Linked DNA regions of Homo sapiens: all the other regions are linked to region 4. The links are contacts of gene promoters, found by promoter capture Hi-C in blood cells and fetal thymus (Javierre and others, 2016). All regions are on one chromosome and are shown on one strand. Each heading gives the region's core, a stretch centred on a gene start or on the middle of the fragment in contact. The rest is flanking DNA. Distances are from core to core; before and after follow the strand shown.

Region 1 (2,700 bases), core at 178-2,677, 330 kb after region 4:
TTATGGTCCCTTCCTTAGGCCTGGAACCAAGTCCTACTAGTGCTCCTGTAAAGCCTGTAGAAGCAACACAACTCTTCTCTCACCCCAGTTCTCATGGCCGTCACAGCCCTCGGCTTGCCTCTGCTCGGCTCATTGACTCTAATTCCATTTTTGAGGGCTGCTTTCCGGGCAGAGGAGGGCGGTGGGAATGAGAGCAGAGGTTTCCTTCCTGTTCTCTGCACAGCAGCCAGTGGCCACCTGGACTAGAGAGGGAGGTACAGGCCCTCACCCTTTCCCAAGCCCACCTGAGCAGCAGGTACAACGTTTGATCTCACCACAGTGAGTGCAAAACCATCCTTCCTGCTGGAACCACCGCAGGCGCCCATCCTCGGCAGTGAGCCACAACTTCCTCCTCACGTCTTCTTAACCAAGGCCAGTTATACCCTTTCATGCTCAAAGGGAGGCTGTCCTACCTGCTGGATACATGTTTGTTATCTGGGAGAAGTTTAGGCCTCTCCCCACCTAATCAGAATGTCTAAACCCTCTGCTTACTAGGTCACCAAAATCAGTGCTGGATTCCAGCTCTATAACACCCAATATGCACAACTGTTGTTCTTGTAAAATTACTGGCATTCCTCTTCTGTAAAGATATCAGCCCCGCAGATGAACAGACAAGTAAACAACGTCAGGCAGATGAACTTTCTGCTGGGAGAAAATAAAACTCGAGGCACATTGCTTTGCTTGCTGTACATGGACAGGCAGAGTGGTCAGATGGAATGGCCATGGATTCGGGCACCAGACCAAGATTCAAATCCCTGCCCTACGATACTCATCACCTGGGTTAACCTTCTGAACCACAAACACTTCATCTGTAAAGTGATGGTAATATTGCCATCTTGCAGGGTTTTAGGATATGGATTAGATTGTATGTAAGGCATCTACATACCTACATAGATTGTTCCATGGGAGCTCAAAAATGGCTGCTCTTACTGATAACTTATAGACATGTAAGTAATGATTACTACTGATAATGATTAGTGATAAGTAGTATTCATGGAAGAAAGACTCACGGACACACAAGACGCCATGTGCATGGATGCACCTCTCAAACGCTTCTTTGCAGCTCTTCACATTCTTTGAGGTATGCAGTCAGTAATAGAACTCAAACCTTATATCCTCGGATTCACTTTTAATTAGGCTGTTCTCATTAAAACGCCATTCCTTTATTGTCTTGCCACTTAATTTAGTAAATTGGTAGAGCAAATGTGGCATGCAGATTGCCTCTTCCATACCAGAACGTCATCATTCATTGCCAAAGCCTATGTGGATTAGGAGCATTTGAAGTGGAAATTAGTTGAGTTCAGGGCATACAGTTGTTGAATTTTGATTATCAGCTTATAGTATTTTTAAAATTAGATTATGCTTTGTTTCCATTTAACAAAGGAAGATAAATGTTGTGGTTGATGTTTTTATTAAAATAGAAATTTAACAAACATTCTCCAATAACTGGATGGATTACAGGAGATGAGACAATCAATAGAGGATTACATTTTGCAAAGCCAATTTAGGAACCTTGTCTAGATAAAACCCTCTTGTGGCAGAAGGGATCTGGCAAAAATGAATAAATTTGTAATAAGTGTCAACCCTGGCCCCCTGCCGTGCAACTCAAGTATAGACAGATTTTTGGAGGGAAGATCTACTTCCAACTACTGTTATTCTGCTAGAGAGATGTGTTCGCGAGGGATTGGTCACATTTTGACATCAGAGGCTGGCCATGACAATCCCAAGGTTCTGCCAAATTCCAGTGGATTCCCACTGCTTACTTCAAGTCCCAGTGTGGTCAGGACTTCAGGACTTCTCTGAAGGGGAGATGGGGCCCTTTTCTGGAGGATCAGAGCTCTGAAGATGATTGGTCCTCGTTATTCAGTATGAAAGCAAATACCACATTTCAAGAAGTGGATGGCTCTTTTTAAAATAAGTCACCTTGGCAACTGGAAGGCACAGCAAGGAGCGAGAAAGGGTAAGGGAGAGAAGCGGGGAGAGGGAAAGAATGAGGAAAGGGAAAAAGAAGGGTAAGGAGTAAGGGGGAGGAAGAGAGAGACAAGACACGGATACACAGGAGACTCAGCGCCCCTTCAAGCATTCTGGAATCCCCCGAATAATCACCACTCCTTCTCCCTTCTTGCTGGAACTTTGTGTATTTTGCATTTCCTGTTGAAGTCATAAATCCAGATCCTGCTCTGTAAACCCATGGAGTCTGAGGGCAGCCAGGGCCGGCAGAGGCAGAACATTTCAACATGTGCCGAAATGTTCCCACAGGCAGACTAGGCAGTTGGGGTGGCAGGAATCCAGGAGCCTGAACTAGGAGGCGGGTGAGTTGTCTTTGCCTGAGAGTTGAGCTTAAATCAGCCAATAAAATTGTCCATCTTAAGGAAGCTGAAATTTCTAAATAAGCCTATAAATAATTTCACAAATAGGGCCTGTGCTGTGTAATAGTGTGCACTGATTTTGAGAGTTACTGCAAGAATAAATTTGCTGAATGAATAAATCTGCAGTAGTCGCCAGTCAAATGTCAAAGGCTGGTCTCCAGCAGAAATAACCTTTTAAAAAGGACTCATTAGCTGAGCACACAGGGCACCCACATAAGTGATTTCTAATTCATTAAGAGGTAGATGATCAGCTCATATTTTGCTTTTCCAGCAAATAAGGATTCAAATAAGA
Region 2 (2,700 bases), core at 120-2,619, 270 kb after region 4:
GCCTGATGCAGGATCTGACTGGTGAGGTGGCCCATGGCTGAGAGCTGACAGGCTGTCCAGGGCCAATGGAGGCCCATGGGAGAAGCGGCCTGCAGAGGGTGAAGAGAAGACTTGCAATCTTATGGCCTGATACTGTCCATGGGCAATCCAGGGACAGAAGGCACGGAAACTTCAGGTGACCCTAGCGTGTGTCTGAACCAAGTTCCTAAGTGCATGGTTTCAGGGGAGGGACTTCTTCCTCCCCTACAGAGAGTAATGGAAGGTAAATGGTTGAAGCCAGGCAGGCAGGTGACTTCAGAACCCCATCCTGCCTCTGCTGTGAGAGGAAGGCCACTCTGTTTACAAGCAGTGAGGCTGGACTGTTTGAGGTGTTCTCAGCCCCATGTGCCCTTCTCTGGATGGAGAGCCTTTCCCTCCCTTTAGAGGGCACTGTGTCTGCAGGAAGGAGGTCAGTAGCATGAGCACTTGGCCTGAAGTGTCTTACACGGGTCCATTTCTGCCAAGACGCCCAATGGGGGCCCAACAGCCAGGCCCGTGAGCTAGCCTTCTGTTGTGTGGACACATCAACATTTCTGGCTCTGTCACACAGGTATGGTCAGGGCCCTTTGTAGTTGCATAGGTGTAAAGCGAGGGCCCTGGCTGATGGCTCTTCCTGTCAAGCAGAACAAAGCAATGATGTGGAGGTGATTGTCCCCTCCCCAGGGCTCCAGGAAGCCTTGATCCGCACACTGTGCTGAACAGCACACAGCAAGAGCTCTAGTTAATCATGAGGATTAAATTGTGTTTGTTTTCATTGTAATTACAGCAGAGCAGTAAAATGTGCAGTCTGTGGAGCTGGACAGGCAGAGGTCAAGGATGTTTGCTTCTTGGCTTTGGAGGTGTCAGACGTGTGTGAAATATGCTCAGCCTCCCACCTGTGTGTGCAGCAGCCAGGCACCTCCCATCTCCCAGGGACAAACACAAACAAGTGCATTCGAAGGGAAGGGTGTGCCCAGAAAGAAGTGGCATGGGGCTGCAGGTGGTGTTCAGTGTTCATTGAGACTCTGATGGCTGTGTGCTGGCCAGGCCCCATGACGACAGGTAAAGCTTAGGACTCTTATTGAATTGGGTGTGTATTTAAAATTTGGCTCATTGAGAATCAGTGTAATCGGCAGGCATTTCAAGCCTTTGTCATGGATTTATACAGTGTTTGGGAGGTGGGTCACCCTACTGGTCAGCCTCCCCACCCCTTCACTTATAGTAGGGAAACTGAGGCTTGCCTTTTTTTTTTAAATTTATTAATTGGGCTCTCTGCTGATACGAGACATGTTGATGCATTCAGTGTGGTGTGTATTAAGATCTTTACTGGATGTGTAGCATTCCACTTCATTACATCAGAGGAAGGGCCACAAAGCTCTATAAAACCAGGTCCCCTAAGAGTGGCTAGAGCAGGAGACAGGTCGGTGGCCCGGCTGCTGATGCACCAGCCCCAACGGTGCCAGCAAGCATGAGCAAGCCCACAGGTGCCCTCGGCCTCAGGGCAGGAAAGCCCTGGGAAATGCTTATTATTACAGTGCTGGGGTCTTTCCTGTTATGGTTACAGTTGTATTTGTCTAACAGTCTTATTTAAAGAAGACCAACATCATGATTCTGCATTTAACCATCTGAGGCTTGAAAGCTTGGAGAGAAACCAGTTGTCTAAGTGGTTTGTAAATGGGAGAGATAAATGTCTCGAGTAACCACGGTGGAAAAGCACCAGGAGGGTGGTGCTTTCACTGTACCTGGGGGCAGCCATGCTGATTGCAGGAGCTTTGGGGTTACTGCCTTCAAACTCTGCTTTCGATGCCCTGGGAACCTCTCATGGTGCCTGTGGGGTACCCAAGAGCCCATAGGACAGTGTCCGGAGGCCCCACTCTCTGCAGCCAGGTAAACCTACCCAGGCCCTTTCCTTGCGGCCTCATCCTTCAAAGGTTTTCTTGTTTTATTATTTTACGTAATGTTGTTTCTTTTAAAGAAGCTGAGAAATGAAAGAGCAATTGTATGTCTACAACTTTTGTGATATTAACCTTATTTTGAATTTCTGGTTTACCCCATTTGTGTTGGTGCATTCAAGTTATTATCAGGAGATAATTCTTTATCCGCAAATAGCTTTGTTCTCACTTACCTCCTTGGTTCCATTATTGGAAAATATATTACATTTATATATGTAATGGGCCCAATGATAAAATTATATTTTTATTTTCATACAAGACTTTCTTTTTTCTTTTTTATTTTTTTGAGACAGAGTCTTCCTCTGTTGTCCAGGCTGGAGTGCAGTGGCATGATCTTGGCTCACTGCAACCTTTGCCTCCCGGGTTCCAGCAACTCTTCTGTCTCAGCCTCCCACGTAGCTGGGAGTACAGGTGCCCGCCACCACACCTGGCTCGTTTTTTGTATTTTTTTTTGTATTTTTGGTAGAGACAGGGTTTCACCATATTGGCCAGGCTGGTCTCGAACTCCTGACCTTAGGTAATTCACCCACCTCGGCCTCCCAAAGGGCTGGGATTATAGGCGTGAGCCACCACGCCCAGCCGCAATCACTTTGTTAAATGAGTTAAGAACGGCAGAGACATGTGCATTCATACTATCTTTTATAATGACCCGGCTGTCTTTACTAGTGCTCTTTGTCATTTTATGTTGGTTTAAATTATTATCTGTGGTCACTTGATTTTAGCCTAAAAA
Region 3 (2,700 bases), core at 140-2,639, 470 kb after region 4:
CTAGATTTATGGCTTCATCACCTGCCTTCTAACTCTTATTTATTCTCTCTTTCACTTTAAGGTCACCTTACAACTCCCCTAGACTTCAGTTTATTTAGTGTGAAAATGGGAATAATGTCTTTTTGTACTCATGGGAATACTATAAAAATTAATTATTGGTTTGTATCAGTCAGGGATCTCCAGAGAAACAGAACCAGCAGGAGACAGAGAGAGAGAGAGAGAGAGAGAGAGAGAATTTATTTATTTTAAGGAATTATGTGACTGTGGAGGCTGGCAAGCCTGAATTCTGTGGGGCAGCCCAGCAGGCTGGACCCTCAGTCAGGAGTTGCTGTGCAGTCTTGAGGCAGAAAATCATTGTCCACAGGATGCCTGTGATTGCTCTTAAGGCCTTCAGCTGATTGGGCGAGGCCCACCCACATTATCAAGGTATGTACTTTCAGTAATCTCTTTTACTTAAGGTAAACTGGCTGTAGATATTAACACATTTGCCAAATGCCTTCATAGCAACATCTAGATTAGTGTTTGCTCAAACAACTGGGTACCTGCCTAGCCACACTGACATAAAACTCACCATCACCGTCCATCCTTTGTCAGCTTGACATCTCCCTAAACTATACTTAGTTTCCACATAAAGACAAAAGCAAAGTCATACTTCTGCCTAATATGATACAACAAGCCTGACTACACCAAGAGTGCATGCGCCCTTCCCAGAAGAGGATTCAGAGTCTTTGAGTGGTGCTTCGTCTTCTTCTTGATATCTTGTAACTTAAATACTATCATATAATAATCATATCATATAAAGTCAGTGCAACTTATATTACATGGTGAGATAAGAGAGAGAAGAAAACAAAGGTACTGCTTAATATACACATTCACACAGACATATTCTTAACAAAATAGGAGGAAATACTTACAACAGTTACAATCCTCATTTCTGTAGCTGTTCACATGGTCATGGCTGGTATTTATAATTACTTTGTCTACTATCCAATCTGTATTCCCCTTCCCTTCAGAAAGCGCCTCATCTGGGCATGGACCCTTACCTGGTGGGGTGATCCAAACCTTCATTCCTGAAGGGACTGGGCCATTTTTAGTCCTGTCTGGATTGGGTGGTTATAGTTTTCCATTGACCTCAGTCACGGGGCATTGTGATTGAGAGCGTGCTAGGAGACACCCCAAGGGATCTCCTGTATCCCAGACATGCTCTTGCCCATGTCCACTATGGAGTGCAGTCCAGTTTCCCACGGTGGTCAGGATCAGTCACCCGAGCCAGCACAGTAGTTCCCGTTCCTGCCTTTGATTCTAAGCCACAAGGATCCCAAAGCGGCTGAGTGGCAGTCTTGAATTCCAGCTCAATGGAATCATTGTCATGTTTCCTGGTGGCAACATTCCTCCCCCTGGAACCAAGACCTCTAGACTAGTAGAACATAATGTTGTGAGAACAAGAAGCAGACATTTTGCTAGTGGGTTACTAGGGGTCATAATAAGTGGTGCTTCTCCCATTTCTGCCCCATGATTCCTGGGCCCATGAGTCCTGGCTGTAGGAGAAATAGCACCATATATTTGATGCTGATTCAGAGCATACCCAGCCTTCTGGAGAATATTGTCCCAGCCCTGCAAGGGACTGTCACCCAGCTGGTGCTGTAACTGAGTCTTCAAAAGGTCATTCTACATTCTGTCAAGCCAGCTGCCAGCATAATGGGGAACATGGTAGAGCCAGTGAGTTCCATGCACACGAGCCCATTGCTGCACTTCATTTGCTATGGAGTGAGCTCCTCAGTCAGAAGCAGTGCTGTGTGGAATACCGTGATGGTGGTTAAGGCATTCTGAAGTCCATGGATATTCACTTTGGCAGAAGCATTGTGTGTAGGGAAGACAAATCCATATCTAGAGTGAATAGTATCCATTCCAGGAAGGACAAAACACCATTGCCCCTTCCTTGATGGAGGTGGTCCAAGGTAGTCACCTTGCCCCCAGGTGGATGCTGACCATCTCAGGGAGTGGTGACATGCTGGGGACTCACTGTTGTTCTCTGCTGCTGGTGGATTGGACACAGTGGTAGTCGTAGCCAGGTTGGCCATGGTGAGTGGAAATCCATGATGCTGAGCCCATGCATCACCTCCATCCACAGTGGCCACTCTGTTCATGGGTCCACTGGGCAATGACAGGAATGGCTGAGGAAAGAGGCTCAGTCATTGACTGTGCTCCACAGAATCCCATCTGTGGAATTACTAAAGTCCTCCTCTGCTGAGGTCACCCTTTGGTGAGCATTTAAATGGCACACAAATTTCACCACATGTTTTCCCATTGAAAGAGGTCTTTTCACATGTGCTTTTCCAATTTCCTTGTCACCAATTTTCCAATTATGTTTCTTGCAAGTCCCTGACCAACCAGCCAAATCATCGGCCACAGCCTATGAATCATTAAACAATCACACTTCTAGCCACTTCTCCTTCCAAGCAAAGTGCACAACCAGGTGCATTCCTCAAAGTTCTGCCCACTGAGAGGCTTTCCCTTCACTGCTGTCCCTCAGGGATGTCCCAGAGAGGGGCTGCAGTGCTGCAGCTGCCCACTTTCAGGTGGTGCCTGCATATGGTGCAGAACCATCTGTGAACCAGGCTCAAGTCTTATCTTCCTGTGTGATCCTATGGAACTGCCCAGGAGGCCACAGGTGCAGGCTGGGAGAGAGAAGGCAGCATA
Region 4 (2,700 bases), core at 84-2,583:
AGAGTATTAAGCCAGGCAAGAAACATTCTCTATTTTAGATGCCTGGATCCCTTTTTTCCTTCAGTCTATTATGGCTCTTCACTTCTTTGTTACACTTTCACTCTTGCTTAGAAAGTGTCTCAAAAATGCCACTTGAGAGCCACAGAGCAGTGGCCTGGGGACTGGGGAAGAGGACGGTGGTGCTCCTGTCTCTCCGTACGTCTCCTCACATGCGTGTACCCCTGGCTGTGTGGGATTGCCCACTGACCGGCATCTGCCCTGCTTGTTGATTTTAACTGTCCCTCTTGTTGCTGACCCAGCACAACATGGGCAGGGAAACCCAGTGGGAACCTCGCCTGCTGACCTCCCTGCCCAGCCACCCGCTTCTCCCTGAGCTGACATCTCAAAGCTTGGCTGCTGCAGGAGGCTGGGAATCAGAGCCGACTGAATCAGAGCCGACTCCTGTCTAGGAGCCCAACCCACCCCACGGTCTGTCAGAGTGTTGAGAGGAACCTCTTGGCTGGAAATGAAAACCTCAATCATCACAAATAGGTACCCACTCCCCTCCTTCTCTCCCTCTCCCCGCTCCCCCGCCACCAACACAGAGGCCAGGATATGGGGGGTCTCAGACACGACTGGAAACCCCACTTGGAAGGTCTCTTAGGTCACAGCGGGTACGCAGAGTTGGAGGCAGGTACAGAGCCCAGCTAGAGTCCCTGCCGCGCCTGCCTTCCCCAGTGAGCCGGGCACAGGGGCAAACCTGAGAAACATACTTTTCACGCTCCCTGGAGGAACCCGTTGCTTCAGTAGCCCAAATCTTAAAGCCTGTGAAGCACACACAGAATTTGTCTCCCTAACCAAATGTGCAACCAACAGCAAAACAGGGTTTCTGATGTTTTTCTAAAACAAAGGAACAATCTCAGGTCTTAGAACTGGTAGCGCAGACATACTGCAATCGGTAAAGCTTGTTCAAACGCAACCCAAAAATGACATGCATTTCAAAAATGCACCCAGCCTCTCTCCCAGCCCATGACACCTCCGTCTCGGCCACAGCTGAAGAGTTTAGAAAACCAGAGGAAAGGACCAGGGCTTACCTGGCTTCTGTTGGAGGTCAGCTTCAGTCCCAGCAGAAGATGGGTCTATGAAGAAAGTCAGGTACCATCCAGTTCTGGGTGACAGGCTTCACAGGTGGCCACCGTGGCAGCCCTCTCAGAAGCAGGTACTCTATGTCCTTAGGGGCCAGCAGGGCTGCCTGGGACCTGGCACACCTCTCTGACACTAGCCCCGCTTCCTTTCCGTTTAAAGGGCTTCCCGGGAACTCTTCCTTGACCGCTCCCTGCCCTGTCTGCAAGTTTGGAAACTCAGTCCTTGCCGAGGGGCTTTCCCTCATTGCAAACTCACCTGCACCATCTAGAGGTCTCTCCCAGCACTGGAGAGGCTGGAGCGGGCACGTTCAGCCCTGCTGCCATAGGTCCCTGGCACACCTGGCTCTCCGGCCGTCTGCCCCTTAAGAGATCTGTTGGAATGCGTAAAAATCATGGATTTTTTTTTTTGCAGGGGTGGGGGCCTTGCTTCTATCAGAGCCTTTAGGCGTGGGAGTGCTAAAAAGCTAAACTAGCATTAAAATATCATTAATCAAAGCTTGTTCGTAGAAGGACCCCCCACTGAGATGGCTACAGGCATGGGTGCCACTGCACGGATTCAGCTTCCAACATGTCTGTTCACATTCTCACCCATCCCCCGCACATCCCTCAGGGTTTGAGCCACCAGGACTGCTCTTCCTTTCCTCTCTCTGGACACCTCACACCACCAGTGTATACCCATGTAACTTCAGATAACCATACACACCCCCCGTATAACTAGGTAATTAGGAAGCCATTTGAAACATCAACATTTTGAAAGGACATACCTTTCAGTATTGGGCAATTATTTCTCAAAAAGTAAATGATTGGGGGGGGGAAAACAGCCTTAAAATAATGTCATTCTCTTGTCATTTTCTCCCTCATTCACACCTACACAGATAAATACAGGAACAGAGCAGCTCCTCCAGGCTAGATTTCTGTGTTCTCCTTTTCCATCTTGTCCCCTCTGCCTTGGAAACCTACAAGGTAACTCACACATGAGAAAGTAAGAGCTTAAGAAAGAAACAGTCTGGGCTCCGTGGCTCACACCTGTAACCCCAGCACTTTGGAGGCTGAGGCGGGCAGATCACTTGAGGTCAGGAGTTTGGGATCAGCCTGGCCAACATGGTGAAACTCCGTCCCTACTAAAAATACAAAAATTAGGCCGGGCGCGGTGGCTCACGCCTGTAATCCCAGCACTTTGGGAGGCCGAGGCGGGTGGATCATGAGGTCAGGAGATCGAGACCATCCTGGCTAACAAGGTGAAACCCCGTCTCTACTAAAAATACAAAAAATTAGCCGGGCGTGGTGGCGGGCGCCTGTAGTCCCAGCTACTCGGGAGGCTGAGGCAGGAGAATGGCGTGAACCCGGGAAGCGGAGCTTGCAGTGAGCCGAGATTGCGCCACTGCAGTCCGCAGTCCGGCCTGGGTGACAGAGCGAGACTCCGTCTCAAAAAAAAAAAAAAAAAAAAATATACAAAAATTAGCCGGTGGTGGCATGTGTGGAGGCTAAAGCAGGAGAATTGTTCGAACCCAGGAGATGGAAGTTGCAGTGAGCCGAGATTGTGCCACTGCACTCCAGCCTGGGCAACAGAGCGAGA

Evidence for each region. The method cuts DNA at HindIII sites, captures the fragments that hold promoters and counts their contacts. A CHiCAGO score of 5 or more calls a contact.
Region 1: a contact is called between a fragment that was not itself captured here and the fragment with the promoter of EDAR in region 4, in 4 of 17 cell types (naive CD8 T cells, total CD4 T cells, non-activated CD4 T cells and 1 more). The highest score is 7.3, in naive CD8 T cells.
Region 2: a fragment that was not itself captured here is called in contact with the fragment with the promoter of EDAR in region 4 in 1 of 17 cell types (non-activated CD4 T cells); the score reaches 5.0 in non-activated CD4 T cells.
Region 3: a fragment that was not itself captured here is called in contact with the fragment with the promoter of EDAR in region 4 in 7 of 17 cell types (M1 macrophages, M0 macrophages, naive CD8 T cells and 4 more); the score reaches 8.4 in M1 macrophages.

The regions. Positions count from the first base shown.
Region 1 is chr2:109,320,077-109,322,776 of GRCh38, forward strand. The region is part of intron 1 of SH3RF3 (SH3 domain containing ring finger 3); the gene reads left to right. It also overlaps a transcript of RANBP2 not described here. Among named protein-coding and RNA genes, the nearest start is that of MIR4266, 7.8 kb to the left of the region's middle. The HindIII fragment of the contact is 4,135 bases long and covers 1-2,700 here.
Region 2 is chr2:109,260,595-109,263,294 of GRCh38, forward strand. The region is part of intron 1 of SH3RF3 (SH3 domain containing ring finger 3); the gene reads left to right. It also overlaps a transcript of RANBP2 not described here. Among named protein-coding and RNA genes, the nearest start is that of MIR4266, 52 kb to the right of the region's middle. RefSeq lists an enhancer at 1-402. The HindIII fragment of the contact is 571 bases long and covers 1,085-1,655 here.
Region 3 is chr2:109,458,368-109,461,067 of GRCh38, forward strand. All of the region lies in intron 8 of SH3RF3 (SH3 domain containing ring finger 3), which reads left to right. It also overlaps a transcript of RANBP2 not described here. Among named protein-coding and RNA genes, the nearest start is that of MIR4266, 150 kb to the left of the region's middle. The HindIII fragment of the contact is 5,379 bases long and covers 1-2,700 here.
Region 4 is chr2:108,987,887-108,990,586 of GRCh38, forward strand. It overlaps EDAR (ectodysplasin A receptor), which reads right to left and starts at 1,334. Exons shown (of 12, transcript NM_022336.4): 1 at 1,074-1,334. It also overlaps a transcript of RANBP2 not described here. RefSeq lists an enhancer at 1-308. The HindIII fragment of the contact is 677 bases long and covers 942-1,618 here.